Linked DNA regions of Homo sapiens: region 1 is linked to region 2. The links are contacts of gene promoters, found by promoter capture Hi-C in blood cells and fetal thymus (Javierre and others, 2016). All regions are on one chromosome and are shown on one strand. Each heading gives the region's core, a stretch centred on a gene start or on the middle of the fragment in contact. The rest is flanking DNA. Distances are from core to core; before and after follow the strand shown. Region 1 has its middle 180 kb from the start of SMAD2. Region 2 holds the start of HDHD2 (haloacid dehalogenase like hydrolase domain containing 2).

The links. Contacts are between HindIII fragments. The CHiCAGO score rates a contact against its expected background, and 5 or more counts as called.
Region 1: a fragment that was not itself captured here is called in contact with the fragment with the promoter of HDHD2 in region 2 in 1 of 17 cell types (M0 macrophages); the score reaches 5.2 in M0 macrophages.

What each region holds. Positions count from the first base shown.
Region 1 is chr18:47,749,218-47,753,100 of GRCh38, forward strand. No RefSeq gene overlaps it. Among named protein-coding and RNA genes, the nearest start is that of SMAD2, 180 kb to the right of the region's middle. RefSeq lists a silencer at 1-149. The HindIII fragment of the contact is 555 bases long and covers 1,621-2,175 here.
Region 2 is chr18:47,148,997-47,152,472 of GRCh38, forward strand. It overlaps HDHD2 (haloacid dehalogenase like hydrolase domain containing 2), which reads right to left and starts at 1,504. Exons shown (of 7, transcript NM_032124.5): 1 at 1,382-1,504. RefSeq lists an enhancer at 913-972. The HindIII fragment of the contact is 10,382 bases long and covers 1-3,476 here.

The DNA.
Region 1 (3,883 bases), core at 648-3,147, 600 kb after region 2:
AGCTGCCGCCGCCCAGCCCTGAGCCCCGCGCTTCGCGCCCGCGGCCCTGAGCTCTGCTGACCCCTGGCGGCCGCCGCGCGCCGCGCCGTCTGGACTGCGAAGGGCAGCCGCGCGAAACCCGACGCTCTGGCGCCCCCTGGTGTCCGCGATGCCGCACTGACCCGCGGACGGACGGGAGGCCTACGGATCCAGGATGGCTCCTTCGACTCTCCCCACGCCCCCCGCCCTCTGCTTCTCCCCAGGGCTGCTAAGGAACCAACATCACACTGGCTGGCCCACGCAGGACAGGACAGGGCCAAAACAGTAATGGGATGCGCGAACCTCTAAAGGGTTACTGGAATTCGGGATGCTGTGGATTTAGGGGATTGCTTTGGGCATGGGGTTGATGGAGGGAAGGAGGGCCCTCCTTAAGTGTAGGAGGTCAAGATTTTAGGGATGACATGTTCAGGGGAGAGGGCCAGGACAGGCTGGGCAGGGCTGCTTTTGAGAGGCCTGAAATTAACAAGGACGCTACGCCTTTCTGGTGGATTTGCGGACCACTGATAGGGTCGTTAACAAGAGCCTCCCATACCTGCTACTGGGATGGCCGCTACTGGGCTCGGCCGCAGTTTTCAGGGTAAGTTTGGGCCCTCAGCCTGTGTGTGTCTCAGCCCTCCTCAGACCAAACCACAGTCATTGACTTGGTCTCCCTGCTCAGTTGTCAGTCTGACACAGATACACACATATACACACACATGCACACACACATATACACACATACACACATATACACACATATACATAAACATACATATACATGCTTATACATACATATACATACACACATTTATACAAATATACATACACACACATATACATACACACATTTATACAAATATACATACACACACATACACATACATACACACATACACATATACATACACACACTTATACATACATACACACGTTTATACACACATACACATATATACATACACTTATAAACCCATATACATACACACATTTATATACACATATGCATATACATACACACATTTATACACATATGCATATACATACATTTATACACACATATTCATACACTTATACACACATGCATATACATGCATACACATACATATACACACATACACACAGATATAAACACATATACACATGTATACAAAGATATGCACACACATACACCCATATACACATACACACATATACACATATACATACACACATGCACACGTATACACATGCACACATCTCATATATATGCATACATATACATGTACACATACATATAGACATACACACATGTACATACACACACACACACACACCACACTGGGAGCTGCTGAGGGGCAGGCCCCTCTTGGTGCCTGACGCCTGGAGTAGCCACTCACTAAATGCTGGATGAATCAATACCTGGAACAGGCTGGATGCCCACCTGGGGGAAACAGCACCTAGGGATGGGAAAGCAGGGTGTAAAGCTGTGGCCAAAAGTACCAGCAAGAACCAGAGAGGGATCTAGTGATGCCCCAAGGGACCGAGGACCCTACGGGCTGGGAGGTCAGGAAAGAACCCTGGAGGAGGCAGGGTCTCCACTGGCCCCTGGAAGCTGACACTAGAAGCTTAGAATGAGGACCTGGAAGCTCAGAGGGTTTCTAGTACCCCCCAATCCCTCAGTAAGGGGAACTGGGAGGGGTGGCCTCCAACAAGAATCAAACTACTGCTCCCCTGTCCACCAGCCCTCACATAACCGTGCCCTTTCCCGACACCAAGGCAAAATCCCACCCTCTTCTGTTTTAAAGCAAGCTGAGGGGGGCGGTCAGTGTGAAGGGGGTTGTCCCTCCTACCCACTGCACTGATGCCTTGGCACTGCACTGATGCCCTGCCCGGAACCTGCACTGATGCTCTGGCGCTGCACTGATGTCCGGGACCTGCACTGATGCCCTGGCAGTGCACTTTCTGCCTGGGACCTGCAGACTTCCCACATGCTCCTCATCTCCACCTGCCAATCATCAACCACATGGAGTCCGCTGAGAGTCTTGCTCCTCCTGCCTCTGCCCTCAGGCCTGGGACCTGAGTACTTCAGTGCTGAAGAAAACCGACCAAGGAGTCCTGGCTGGAAACCAAGCCATGTGCTGTCCTGCCAACCCCCATGCATCCTCCCCACAAGGCTGAAGCTTTTGCTAGAAAACACCCCACATGGTTAGAGAATGGGTGTTAATGACATGAAATGGGCACTCCCTCCCCAGAAAGCCTTCCCTGGCTTACTCATCATTACAGGACAACCTTGGAATCTATGGCATAACCTGACAGATATGGCTTCTCCATCATATGATTGATCTAAATCAGTGGTTTCAGAGGGAGCCTCTTGCTGGCAGGTTATATCCATGGGTCTCAGCGGGAAATGTGTGGATGAGGAGGGGACAAGGCCTTTTGGGTACCACCCCTCCTTAAACAAGCAGCTCCACCTTCACATCTACAGAGGCCATACAGCCTGGTAACCACATGCCTAGGCTAGGAACCAGGCTACCTGGGTTCAATTCCTAGCCTTTTCACTGACACTGTGTGACCATGAGCAAGTTTCTTAACTCCTCTATGCCTCATTTTCCTCATCTATAAATTAAGATGTTAGTAGTAACCTAACTCAAAGGATTGTTGGGAAAAGTAATTGAATTAACACAGGTAAAGTGTCTGGCATACGGTAAACGCTCAATGAATGTTAGCTATTAATATTAACTGGTGTATACAATGGAATTCTACATATGCTTGAAATAAGACCAAAACATGTTTGAAAACCCACTAGATTTCATGATCTCCAAGGTCCCTTCTGGCTCTAAAATTCAATAATTTTAAGGTGATATCTTTTAACTGTCACTTTTGCATCTCCAAGCCCTAGCACCTGCTGTTCTCTGCCAGATACACCATTTCCTACTGTCTGCCTAGTGAACGCTGACTTCTCCTTCCTGCCTCAGTTTAATAGCTGCCTCCTCCAGGAAGCATTCTCTCCCTGCTCCAGGCAGAATCGGTCCAGTCTTTCCTTCCCACATGTTCCTTGCACACTTTTAAAATAATACAGAGTCCCTGATACCTATGCTGTCCCATGCTTCTGTTTCCTTTTTGCCCTCTTGCAGGACCCACAGACTCCTGGAGAGCCTACTCATGTCTATAGCCCCCATGCCTGGCCTAGAACAGGCAATTGCCTAGAACAGGCAATGTACTCATCAGTTTTTTGTTTTTTGTTTTTTGTTGTTTTCTTTGAGATGGAGTCTTGCTCTGTCACCCAGGCTGGAGTGCAATGGCATGATCTTGGCTCACTGCAACCTCCGCCTCCCAGATTCAAGCAATTCTCCTGCCTCAGCCTCCCAAGTAGCTGGGAATACAGGTGCGCACCACCACGCCCAGCTAATTTTTTGTATTTTTAGTAGAGACGGGGTTTCACATGTTAGCCAGGATGGTCTCCATCTCCTGACCTCGTGATCCACCAGCCTCGGCCTCCCAAAGTGCTGGGATTACAAGCATAAGCCACCGCGCCTGGCCACTTATCAGTTTTATAGTGAGGAAACTGAAGCACAGAGGTATGAAAAAAATGGCTGGAAACACTCAGAGTCAGAGCTGGGAGGAAGAACCAGGCCTCTGGACCACTAGACAGGATCTGAGGCTTCTCTCAAGGGCAAGGGTCAGGGCAGGGAGGGTGTCACCATCTCAATTCCAGGGCAGGCTTTGGCACAGCCAGGTGGGGCAGGTGCGGGCATCTCTATTAGGGCTGAGAAGGACTTAGATGAGGGACCAGCCCCACCACCAAACACAGAGGCAGTAGCATCGCCGATGGGGTCTGGGGATGCCATCTCACACCTGGACCATTGCAGTAGCTTCTAACTGTCCT
Region 2 (3,476 bases), core at 254-2,753:
GAAATAATAACACAACTCTAATGGTTGATAAGAGGATTAAAGAAAGTAATACCTATAAAGAATTGTGAATTGTGTCCCGCTCAGAGAAAGGTTGGGTTATGTATGTGGAGGGCTGGGAGAGAGAAGCAAGGAGGGAACATTATGGATATATCAAGGGCTACAAAAATCACAGGATACACATGATGCAAAGTTCTAAAGCATTAGTATAACTTGAGGATTTGAGAAAACACATCTAAATATATATTATGGCATATTATTCAAAACTTGCATACTTACAACAAGAGATTTTAATACAAATTTTCCCTTGGGAAATTGGGGCGCTACAAAACATGCCTCCTAAAACCCCTGGGAAGTACAAATTTTCTTTCCTTCCCTATATGGTTCCAGACTTTTCTGGAACCACTGTAGGCATTCAATAAATGACGGTATTATTCAGCCACTCCCCAGTTAAAACTCTTCCAGTGACTCCCCGCTGACCTCTGGATAAAGTCTGAACAATGAACACTGGTGGACAGAGTCCTGGTTTACCCTCTCCAACACATTTGTCTCTACTAGCACCCAAGTTCCATGGTACTGCAGGCGGCCAAGAGCTCTACACTTTGCCTCCCTCGTTGCGGGACTTTTGTCTGCAACTACTCGGGCCCCTCTACACCCTCATCTCCTGGCCAATCCCTTTAGCCCTCAGTCTCTGATAACCATCACTTCCTCTGGCGTGCCTCCTCTGGGTCCAACTCCTTTTCTCCCAGAGTTAGGCTAGGAGCCACCTGTGGTCCTACTACATTTACCACTGTCCTGGTTACCAGCCCGCGCCTCTCCTACTAAACTGTTAAGCTCTGTGCATAAGGGACTGTGTTGCCTTTCCCACTGGGTTATTTAGGCGTTCAATAAAGATCGTGAATTAACTCATGAATCCCGGTGTCCACAGCTGGAAGGCCCCAACAACAAACTCTTTCAGCACCAACTCAACTTCCATCCCCCCATCTCTTGGCTGGGAAGGGGCCTCAAGACTGGTCACTGCACTCGGTTCTAAACCAAGTACCAGGGCCTTAAAAACGCCAAACTGACCAGGAGGGACGCTAGCTCCAAAATACAGCCCAAGAGCACGCTTCGAGGAATGACTGACACACTAGCTTCACGATCCGCCCCGCAGAGACCCACAGCGCGCCTCGCGCCCAGCTATGCGCACGCGCGGGGCCACTGCAAAGAGGGCGGTTCCGACGCGGAAAACAGGGAATGCGCACAGAGCAAGAGCGCACGGCCCGGCTCGAGAGGAGGGGCGGCCTGGGGGCGCCACTAGTAGTTCCCGAACCCTGTCACAAAATCTGCAGCCTCCCGGCCCCAATTGCGCTTCTTCCTCTTCAGTCCTACAGCGGCTTCTCACCCACACTCCGTACGCCGTCCTCAGGAAAGGCCCCCGCTAATGGCAAAGCCAGCCACCCGCACTGGCCGCGGGTCCTCAGCCGGGATAGACAGCCCCGCTGCTGCCCGACGGACGCCGGAAGTTGGGCCCTGGCCGCGCCGGAAGCCCCGGATTTCCCGGCTCCGCCCCACCCCTTCGCCCGGGATTTCCGCCGAGGCGGTGCAGCTACCGCGCCGTGTTGTCCTCTGTCTGCACCGCCGCTGACGGAAAGCTAGGCCCTTCTGGAGACCCGCTTTCCCAAGGGCGCGGCCTCCTGGGCCGGGATGCACGAGGAAAAATAATCCCCTGCCTTTCTTCGGTAGCTGTTTTCCAGTCCACAGCACCACTGCTGAACCGAGCGTTACTGAGTAGCGTTCTTTGCCTTCACCCCTCCCTTCCTCTACCACTTGTCCACTCTCGAGGTTTAACTAAGAAGTCATACTTTACTAGACAACCCAATCTCAGAAGTCGTCATTTCCCCCTTAGCTACTTGAATAGTACCTGGCACCTCTTGCTTCCTCCATTAACTACTCCCTCGGGCAGCGACGTCCCTCCTTTCCCTCTTCTCTCCCGATTAGAGCCACTACGGGCCGTGCCTTCCTCTTCCACGGGAGCTCTATCTTGGTACACCCAGAACCACCTCCCTCCCTAACCCGCTGCCACACTCGTGGGGGTCTCTACCTGTCTCCTCTTGATCCAGGTAAGTTATGTGGACCTGAATAATAGAGTACAGAAAAGTCACTCTTATGCACTCACTATGAAAATGACTGAACAACTTTCTGGAGCCGTGTTGACATAATAGGATACTCACTCGGGTTACACCTTATACAAGGGTTATACCCCTTGATAAAACCACTGCTCTGTCCTTGACTAGGGACCCATATATGCCACCCGTATGCCACAATCTAACACCCCCACTACCCAAGGCTGCAGTCAGCCCTGTTAGGAGCTGTGACCCATTCTGTCCCTTGGACTAGGAGCCATCTGCTTTTCCTCCCCACTGGATCTGAAGTTTTTTTGTCTTACTCATATATGCTAAGTTTAAGTTTTCTGTGTGAGGGTCTAATTGGTTGAAGGAAAAAGGATTTGGTCCTAGTTTCCCCTTATGAGCCAGCTGTCTTTGACCAGATTAAGACATCACCAAAGGATTTTAAGTGGGTAATATAAGAAGTGTATTTTTCTAAATGCTTCCTCTGCCTGCAGTATGAATAGATAGGAGAGATGCCAGAATGGGTGAGACCAGATAAGAGACCCACTGCAGGGCCACAAGAGAGATACTTGAACTAGAATGTGTGGAAACAAAGCAAAGAGGATAAATTCATAGGAGGCAAAACAGAAACTGGTGACAGATTAGATTGGGGTTAGGGAGAAGGCATCAATTATCAGGCTCCAAGACTAGGCAATTGGGTAGTGTAACTGATTTTTTTTTTTTTTTGGAGACAGGGCCTCACTCTGTCACCCAGGATGGAGTGCAGTGGCACAATCATGGCTCACTGCAGCCATGACTTCCCAGGCTCAAGGGATCCTCCTGCCTCAGCCTCCCCAGACAGCTGGGACCACAGGTGCACACCACCACAACTGGCTAATTTTGATTTTTGTAGACAGGGTGGGGTCCCACGATGTTGCCCAGGCTGGTCTCAAACTCCTGGGTTAAAGCAATTCTTCCACCTCAGCCTCCCAAAGTGCTGGGATTACAGGCGCGGGCACCAATGCCTGGCCTCATTCAGATTATGTGGAATCATGGGACAGGACTAATGGCTTTCTCCTCTCCAAATGGATCTACTTGATGAAAGGCAAGCTAAGAAGAAATTCAGCCCCTCCAAAGGGAGGGACTGGATTCAGAAAAAAAAAAAAAAAAAAGGAGCGGGGGGGCAAAAAACCCAAAGGAGTGAAGCCATAAAGCAGTATCTGAACTGGAACAAAAACAGTAGGAAAAACTTATCTTGATCGTTGATACCCTTGGACATAGCCCACTGTGTCCCAGGTCCTTGCATCGAATGTTTTCACAATATTTGACTTCTAATGAAAAATCAGGGGCCAAGAGAAATCTTAGCAAAGAAGAATTCCATTACCATTG